Linked DNA regions of Homo sapiens: region 2 is linked to region 1. The links are contacts of gene promoters, found by promoter capture Hi-C in blood cells and fetal thymus (Javierre and others, 2016). All regions are on one chromosome and are shown on one strand. The core of a region is centred on a gene start or on the middle of the fragment in contact, and the rest is flanking DNA. Distances in the headings are between cores, read along the strand shown.

Region 1 (4,601 bases), core at 1,801-4,300:
ACAGGCCTATGCCACCATGCCCAGCTATTTTTTTTTCCCCCAAGACAGAGTCTCACTCTGTCACCCAGGCTGCAGTGCAGTGGCGCCATCCTGGCTCACTGCAACCTCCGCCTCTCGGGTTTAAGCAATTCTCCTGCCTCAGCCTCCCAAGTAGTTGGGATTACAGGTGCCCACCATCACACCCGGCTAATTTTTGTATATTTAATAGACATGGGGGTTTTACCATGTCGGCCAGGCTGATCTCGAACTCCTGACCTTGTGATCCGCCCGCCTCGGCCTCTCAAAGTGCTGGAATTACAGGTGTGAGCCACCGCGCCCAGCCCACATCCAGCTATTTTTACAATTTTTTTGTAAAGATATAGTTTTGCCTTGTTGGACAGGCTCGTCTTGAACTTCTGGCTCAAGCAATCCACCCTCCTTGGCCTCCCAAAGTGCCGGGATTTCAGGCATAAGCCACCACACCCAGCTGGAAACATCTTTTATCTTAAAAATTCCTAAGCATCCTATAAATTACCTCATTACTATAAATTTAATTTTAACGTAGTATTTTAACACAGTTGCCAGGACCTCATTCAAACCTTCATTTTATAGATGGAGAAAGAGAGCTCACACAGGGGTGTCCAAGGGAGATAATACAGTCATGGGTTCTTAGTTTCCGCTTCTGGTTGGGTCAGTAAATACCTCCTCATCTCTCTTTTCCGCTTATCACTAGAAACAGAAACTAAAAACCATGGCTTCAGGCTGTTAACAGCCTAAAACAAAACAGAACAACAACAGTAACAAAATAAGGTGGGTTGGACAAGTTTGGCAGAGAGCCTGCTTGGAGAAGCTGTGTGAAAAAAAAAAAAGACTGCCACCGCTCCTGAAAGTTCTCGGCCCAAGATGGAATTTAGTCAAAGAAACTCTTACACTAATAAAATTTGTACATCAAATTAAGATCAGGGACAGTTAAAACATTAATAAAGACTGAAGCATTTGTTCATTTAAAAAATTTTATTTAATATTTACATTTATTTTTAAAATAAAAATTAGAGGAAAGCCCATGAACTCATTTTCCATGAACATAATATAATAGTACTCACCTATCTCCTCTACCCAACTTGTGTTTTAGATGAGTCCTTTTGGATCTTTTTCCCCATAATGGCCTCTCTCCTTTTGCTTTACAGTGCAATCAGGGCAGAATAACAGATATGTTGAGTAGCTAATTTATATTTCTGAAGATCTCCATAGAACTCTTAAGTTCTAAGTCTTCATAGTCTTTGCACCTTGCCAAGTTTGCTTTCCTTTGGGAATTCTGTCATAACCACAAGGTTATTCCCCAGACATGCAGTTTGGGGAAATTAACCCGGCAGTAGTAAACAGACTGGATTAGAAAAGGTGGCAGTCGTAATAAGGATATTCCAATAACCGGGGAAAGCTACAGAAGGATCTTGAGTTAGGATGATGACAGTTACAATAGAAAGGAGACCAGTACAAGAGACGGTGAAAACAGAATGGATACAATTTAGTTGAAGAATTGGCTGTGGGTGAAAAGAAGAAATCAAAGATGCCTGAAGTTGTGAGTTTCAGGTAGCCCTGAGTTTATAATCCTAGTTCTGACTCGTACTATCTTTGGATATACTAGCTGCTGACTACTAACTGAACAAGGTAGTAACCTTGTCATCTTGTAACTTACCTAAGTCTGTTTCCTCCTCTATAAAACAAACTATCAAAATAAAGCCGATGAAAAGATTGAAGTAAAACATAAAACCCTTAGCACAGTGCCTAGTATCCATTAAGCAGTAGATAAATGATGGCGGTCATTATTAGGGAGTAGGGTAAAGAACAGAAGGTTAAAAACATGAGTAGCAGTAAGGACTTTTGGGTGGGGATTCGGTCTTTCTACTACACATTACACATACCTCTAAGCAGAGAAAGGGGTTGGAGGGGAGTTTGATAATGTGACTAATAATCCTCCTCCCCCTGGGGGGGATCTTGATAAAGGATAGCCACCCACATGGAGGCCTAATATAAACTGGATTGCAGAATGCACTTGAGCTGGGAGCCCAAGCGGGCCAGGCTTCTTGATTCCTATTTTATCCCCTTTAACCTAGGATAGCTAGGTCTATAGTGCAGACTCAGACCTAACTTACACTTTCATTTGCAGCTGAAGTTTCGGAACAAAGACAAAGATAGCCAGATCATATTAATTACACGGATAGGCAAGAAAGCATGAGCCCTGAGGAGGAAGGAAGGGACTGTCCAGGTGTACTTACCTCAAAGATGAGAAATATCAAAGACAGGAAACCCTAGGTTCTTGCCCTTCAGTCGCTATCTCCTTGCCATTAGTAAAATGCGGCCGATGAATGTCCTCACTTCTGTCCATCTGGGCAGGAGGTGGGAAGGGTGACGTGCAAATGGATGGGAGGAACCCTTTTTTCGGCAGCACCCACCACACCCAGCCTAGTGCCACGCACCGCAAGCGCTCCATAAACGCACACAGCGTCGCCTCTACCAGGATCCCGGGCGGCCTTCGCGGGATTTCTCCTGGCGTCGGCTTTCAGACTCCCGAGGGTGGGATAAATCGAGAGGGTGGCATCCTTTGGCTTTTCTTCTCCCAGGCAGCTCTGAACCATGTTTATGCAACGTTTAATGGGCTCTAATAAAACGGCTAATAATTTTGATCCGCGGAAGCACCGACTCGCTCGCTAAGCCGAATCTGCGAGGGTGAAGCTGCAACTCCAACGCCGGAAAGCGCGGCTACCGAAAAGCGCATGCGCCACGGGGTGGCACGAAGCTAGAGTAAGCTGAGGAGGTGGGCGGAAACCATGGCAACCATGGGTGATGACGACATGGGGAGCGTCTCTAGCGCTGGATTATGACGCTGGATTATGACGCAGGCAGTGGGCGCGGACTCTGCGGTTCGCTTGACTGACGGCGCAGCCTCCGGGCCTAGCCACAGCAGCAACGGCAGAGGCCAGCGGGCGAGGTCAAGATGGTGGCTCCGCGGGCGGGGGAGGCAGTGGAGGGAGGAGGAGTCAGACCTTAGCCAGCCGGAAACACCGAAACCCAGAGACCTCCTGGGGAGCCGCCGCCGCCGCCCTCTCGGCCATCGCTGCCTCCGCCGCCTGCTCCACCTCGAGGGACGCGAGCGGGCGGCGGGGCTGGCCGTGAGAGAGACAGGAGAGGAAGGAGGGCAGGGGCGGAGTTGCCCGCCTTAGCCCCCGCCCCCGGCCGCGGCCCCGGGCCCTGCCCCGCGCGGCCCTGCCCGGCCCACCGAGCCCTGGTGTGGCAGCGGCTCATGGCGGCCGTGGGGCCCCCGCAGCAGCAGGTGCGGATGGCCCATCAGCAGGTCTGGGCGGCGCTCGAAGTGGCGCTCCGGGTGCCCTGCCTTTACATCATCGACGCCATCTTCAACTCCTACCCGGATTCCAGCCAAAGCCGGTTCTGCATCGTGCTCCAGATCTTCCTCCGGCTCTTTGGTAAGGGAACAGGGTACCGTACGTCCCGGGACGGCTATGCGGGCCGAGACGTTCCCCGGGGAGCGGGCAGGCGCGCAGAGGCCATGGGTCGAGTATGTGTCTTTGGGAACTACAGTTTCATCCCTCAAAGGGTCGTCTTTACGGGTTGGGAGGGGGAAGGAGATGATACTTGTCTGAGTTGACAGCGGAGCAGTCCCCCTAGCGAGGATTCAGTGTTGTACCTGAGTGAGGTGGGGAGAAAGTAAGGATGTGTGAGCATGCAGCTCTTTGCCCGTTTGCCTTGGGAAATGAGTACTGGCTTACCGCGTCCTATGCGACAGCCTTCGAAAAACAACTCTGCTATCCCAGTCTCGTCGTGTGTGACCTTGGACTTCTGCCAAGGCGTGGGCCTCAGTTTCCCTTTATTACCAAATGCCGAGTACTTGTATGTTGTCACTTCTGCTGCACCCGAGGGTCCACAGGATCGTGAAGTGTCTGCAGTAAATGACATCCAAGCGAAGGAGACAGGGTTTTGAATGTCAGACCTTGAAACCATTACCAAAAATTCTCATGAAAGCGGCGATGCTTAAATCGAGTCCTAAAATTTTCCATGAATAAACGAGAAGGTATTGAAAGTGACTGTAAAAAGTGATGAGACATTTGCCAAAGAGACTTCTGAAAATCATTGTCTTTGTTTCGTATGGATGGAGTGTTAAAAGTATCTTATATTTCATTTCTTCCTTTCCATCTTCACTTACATCATCAGAGGGAGATGCATTTATGCGTAAAATAATTTTTTAAGTAATTGTAACTTGGCAAATTTTGTTGATGAGGTAATTCTGGTGATCGGTCTTAAGTAGGCTAGTGCTTTTGAAGTGTTGCTGAGGGCAGACTGATGGTGAGGTCTTTACCAAGCCTTTCTGAATTACAAGCCATCTGTTGCTTTATTCCTTCAAAAGAGGAGTGGCAATAAAGGCCGAATTTTGTTCTTAGCAATAAATAGCCATATTTTACATTTATCTGGTATTTTCCTTTTGCAAAGCATTTTCACTGGTAGGTATTATCTAACCTAACCTTCAAACATCCCCCAGAGGTGGGTGGTGGTATTGTCATTTTACAAACCAGGAAACAGGGTCATAGAGGTTAAGTGTTTTGCTCTTG
Region 2 (4,897 bases), core at 1,324-3,823, 540 kb after region 1:
GATGGTTTGCATGGGAGGGCTACAAAGGGAGATGATCCTCAGGGACTCAGAGGAAGTATCTAAACACTGGTCATGCGTTATCTGAAGCCCACGTAACAGTTTCTTCAATAGTATTATCTTCAACTACTCTCTATAATGCTATCTGATAATATATCTAAATCTCTTCACGCACATTTTTTAAGAATGGCTTTTTTTACTGTGTGTTTCTGACTACTAAACTGAGTAGTCTTCATTTCTGTTATAGGAACTCCATGCTCCACTGACTGTTGTTGCAGATGGGCTTTTCTCCAAGTTCAGGAAAAGCCTGGTCTCCAATAAAGTTTCTGTATCATCTCATTTTGTTGGCTTTCTTATGAAGGTACTGTAGGAGTGTGTTATTGTAATTTCAATAAAAGAAACTTGAAATTTGAAAATTATTAAAACATTTTCTTTTTATTTGTTTTAGAATGCACCACAGTTTAAAGCAAATCATGCTGAACTTATTTTAGCTAACCCGAGTCCAGTTCTCATCTACCAGATTTCATCCAGTGAAACTCGAGTACTTGTTGACATTAGAGGAGAAATGCCAAGGAATTTAAGAGAATACATGGTTGAAAAAATTTACCCACAAATACCTGGTAAGAAATAGCATCTTCAGTTCTTACAAAGGCTGTGTCTAAAATAGGCCAGAGATAAGGATGGCAGGTGAAACATTCATCCAGTCAACCAGATATTCTGGAACTGAACTATTTAAACTAGCACTTAAAAACAGCAAAACAAACTCCCAAATTAATAAAAAAAAGTTTCGGGCCGGGCACAGTAGGTCATGCCTGTAATCCCACCACTTTGGGAGGCTGAGGTGGGCAGATCACCTGAGGTTGGGAGTTCAAGACCAGCCTGACCAACATGGAGAAACCCCGTCTCTACTAAAAATACAAAATTAGCCGAGTGTGGTGGTGCATGCCTGTAATCCCAGCTACTCAGGAGGCTGAGGCAGAAGAATCGCTTGAACGGGAGGCAGAGGTTGTAGTGAGCCGAGATCGTGCCATTGCACTCCAGCCTGGGCAACAAGAGCGAAACTCCGTCTCAAAAAAAAAAAAAAGTTTTGATATGTTTTTGTCACATAATAGCATAGTTTTTAGAATAATTGTTTTTATTGGCATATATGGTATTTTTAAAGGTAGTCTCTGGACACGAATCTGACTCTGAATTCTTTATCTCTTATACCTAAATATTTTTGTGCTTGGTTTTTGTAGTAATGACAGCTACCATTTCTTGAATGCTTACTATAAAGTGTTTAGCAAACATAATTTCATTTAATCTATGTAACCACTCTGTGAGGTAGGCATTATCATTATTCTCATTTTACAGATGGGAGAACTAAGGTTCAGAGAGATTAGTTAGCTCCTCCAAGTATAAACTATTAGTAATGGCAGAACCAGGGTTGATATCAGGTCTGTCTGGCTCATATGTGCCTGTTTGAACAGACATGTCCTGTCCGCAGAATGTGAGAATTGTAAGGGATCTTCAGGATCATGTTAGTTTTGAGTTGAATATAAAGGCTTCATGAGATTTAGATAGCTTTGTAAAAACATTAATAAAAATTACTTTTTCACAAATCTAAAGTTTTCATGGTACAGTTTTTAGGATCTTTTTTTGAGAATGGGATGATATAGGAAAGAAAAGTAAAAAAAATTTAAGAATTTTGATAAAATTGAAGGGAAACCCTCATTGTCAATTATGATATGATTAGAGTAATAGGAAACTATTTTTGGTATGAGTACATTTTGTTTAAATATTCCGTTTTTTTCAAGTTATTTTTTAAACTAAGTGAAACCACTTTAGTAACAAATTATTAACAGAAATGAAGTGAAATGAAGTGGGCAAACTTAGATTTTAAATAATGACATTTTCAACATGTACATGGAAACATTTCAATAAATTTTCATTTAGTTAAGCCACTTTTGAAGCTTTCAGATGGGGAAATTATGAATATTTATGAAAAGGGTCATCCATTACCTGATATTTTTAGCATTTATTTTTCTTTTATTGTAAATGTGGTGGTTTTTCTTTTTTTTTTCTTTTTTCCAATCCAGAGGTTAATTGGAGTAGAGTGCCCTGAAATTATGGAGAGAAACCATTGGTAGGTTTATATTAATATTAGTTAGATTACCAAAATTCTACTCCTTAATATGAATGGAATAATTTTTAACAGAGGCTTCTGCTCCTCTATTCCCAGATCACACTGGGAATTGTATGACAGTTCATTTTCTATATAAGTAGCACAGAAATTTAAAGCTTGTTTGGAAGTATCTCAGAGATGAGCTGATCAAACCATTTCATTTTTATAGATGAAGAAATTGAAGCTCAGAGAGGTAGGGCTGGCCTCGAATTCCTTTTCTAGTGTACATACCCTCCTGCTGTTTGTGAATTGGTAGTGTATTTCATCTGATTATTACAAGAATATATTGATTATAATACATTAAATATTAAATATGACAGTAGTCTGTTAACATTTGGAAGAAAGGTAGGTGGTTTTCTCCCTGTTTCATTTCATCTGAATTTGCCTCATTGTTTTTTCATTCAGTTGTATGTATGTTTATATTAATGTTCTCTTAGATTCCTTAGTCATTCCTTGGCATTAACAGCTAAGTGCTTAATGAATAATTTTATTAATGAAATAATTAGTTCTTGATTTATCACAAGGGATATATGTAACAACCATAACAGATGTATAGTAGGCATTTGTTTATACTTGATAAGAAAATATGTGATACTTTGAAATTGAAGTGTTATGACCCATTTCTTTGGGTTGGTGGGATTTATTGCAGATCACCTGAAAGAACCATTCTTAGAAGCCACTGACAATTCTCATCTGAGGTCCATGCCAGCAAGCTTCCTTCCTCCTTCATCAGTGAAGAAACGAGGTATTATTTTTTGGGCTTATTTTATAAAGGAATCAGTATTCCAAATGACAAATATATGATTAAATTTATACTGTTACGAATAACTTCTGGGACAGATAGTTTGTCACTGTGGATTAGTGCATTATTAATACCAAAATTAGTTTTATGATCTATTTAGTTGTTAACATTGAGTGTATACAAGTATTGTGCTAGTCAGGGAAACAACAGGTAAAAAACTGACCTTGACCTAGAGAAGGCAATTTTCTACTTAGGAATGTAGACAGATAATTTTACAACACTGTTGATAAATAAAACCCACAGATTCAGTGTCAAGAAGTGTGCAGAGCAGGGAGGGAAGCTTGTGAAATGGGAGGGGTAGTTAGGGAGGACGTTGTTCAGGAAACAGTGGAAACAAAGGACCTTGGACCTGGAGGATGAGTGGGAGTTCATGAGGTGGACACTAAGATGAGGAACTTCTAGGTAGATGGAATAACATTGCCAAAGGATGAGAAATGGTGGCACTTTCAAGGAACTCAAGCAGTTTCCTATGGCAGGAGCATAGGGTGGGTGTCAGAGTGGGAGACAGACCATTAACATTTAATCTTACAGACAATGGAAAGTCATTTGAAGTGTTTTCTTGTTACTAACTTTATTGATATATAATTCACAAATCAGTTTGCCCATTTAAAGTGTACAGTACAGTGACTTTTTTAGTATATTCACAGTGTGTGCATCACCACCACAATCAAATTTAGAACATTTTTATCTTGCCCAAAGAAACCCCGTACCCATTGGTATTCACTCCCCATTTCCTCCCAACACTCAGCCCTAGGCTACCCCTAATTTACTTTCTGTGTCTAGATTTGTCTATTTGGGATGTTTCCTAAAGGCATTGTATAGTAAAGCCCTTTGGAACTGGCTTTTCATTTAGCACAATGTTTTTGAGGTTCATTCATGTTGTAGCATGTTTCAGTTCTTCATTTGTTTTTATGGCCAAATAATCTTCCATTGTGTGGCTATATTACATTTTGTTTAGCCATTCATCAATTGATAGATATTTGGGTTGTTTCTACTTTTTGGTTATTACAAGCAATGCTGCTATGAACATCTGTGTGCGAGTTTTTGTGTGGACATATATTTTCATTTTTCTTGGTTATATACCCAAGAGTGATATTGCTGGATTACATAGTAGTTCACGTTTAACTTTTTGAGGAGCTGCTAGACTTGTTTTCCAAAATAGCTGTCCCAGTTACATTCCTTTCAGCAGTGTGTGAGTTCTAATTTCTCCACATCCTTGTCAGTGAACACTTGTATTATCTTTGTGTGCATAGCCATCCTAGTAGTGTGAACTAGGCCTTTTATCATTGTGCTGATTTGCATTTCTCTCATAGATAATGATGTTGAACATCTTTTCATATGCATATAGGCCATTTGTTGTTTGGAGAAATGTATATTTAGACTTTGCATATTTTTTTAATTGGGCAGATTTAAAATTTATGTATTGTTGAGTTTCAAGAGTCCTTTATATATTTTAGGTACAAGTCCCTTATTAGATATGTGATTTGCAAAATTTTTCTCATTCTGTGGGTTTTCTTTCCATTCTTCTTAATGGTTTCCATTGAAGTACACATGGTTTAAATTTTCATGTTTATTTTTTCTTTCGTTGCTTGTGCTTTTGATGTCATATTTAGGAAGGCTTTGTCCAATCTAAGTTCAAAAAGATTTACTCCTATGTTTTCTTTTTCTTTTTTTTTTTTTGAGATGGAGTTTCGCTCTTGTCGCCTAGGCTGGAGTGCGATGGTGCGATCTCGGCTCATTGCAACCTCGGCCTCCCAGGTTCAAGCAATTCTCCTGCCTCAGCCTCCCGAGTAGCTGGGATTATAGGTGCTCGCCACCGTGCCCAGCTAATTTTTGTATTTTTAGTAGAGACGGGGTTTCGCCATGTTGGCCAGGCTGGTCTCAAACTCCTGACCTCAGGTGATCCACCCACCTCAGCCTCCCAAAGTCCTGGG

Evidence for each region. Contacts are between HindIII fragments. The CHiCAGO score rates a contact against its expected background, and 5 or more counts as called.
Region 2: a contact is called between a fragment that was not itself captured here and the fragment with the promoter of RNF139 in region 1, in 1 of 17 cell types (erythroblasts). The highest score is 5.7, in erythroblasts.

Annotation. Positions count from the first base shown.
Region 1 is chr8:124,471,830-124,476,430 of GRCh38, forward strand. RNF139 (ring finger protein 139) reads left to right here and starts at 3,051. Exons shown (of 2, transcript NM_007218.4): 1 at 3,051-3,461. The coding sequence starts at 3,281. RNF139-DT (RNF139 divergent transcript) reads right to left here and starts at 2,734. Exons shown (of 2, transcript NR_108047.1): 1 at 2,256-2,734. RefSeq lists enhancers at 2,139-2,328, 2,416-2,960, 2,669-2,998, 2,961-3,506, 3,507-4,050 and 1 more and a silencer at 3,019-3,328. The HindIII fragment of the contact is 6,816 bases long and covers 1-4,601 here.
Region 2 is chr8:125,008,727-125,013,623 of GRCh38, forward strand. It overlaps SQLE (squalene epoxidase), which reads left to right. Exons shown (of 11, transcript NM_003129.4): 5 at 245-358; 6 at 446-617; 7 at 2,811-2,906. Among named protein-coding and RNA genes, the nearest start is that of SQLE, 13 kb to the left of the region's middle. The HindIII fragment of the contact is 597 bases long and covers 2,276-2,872 here.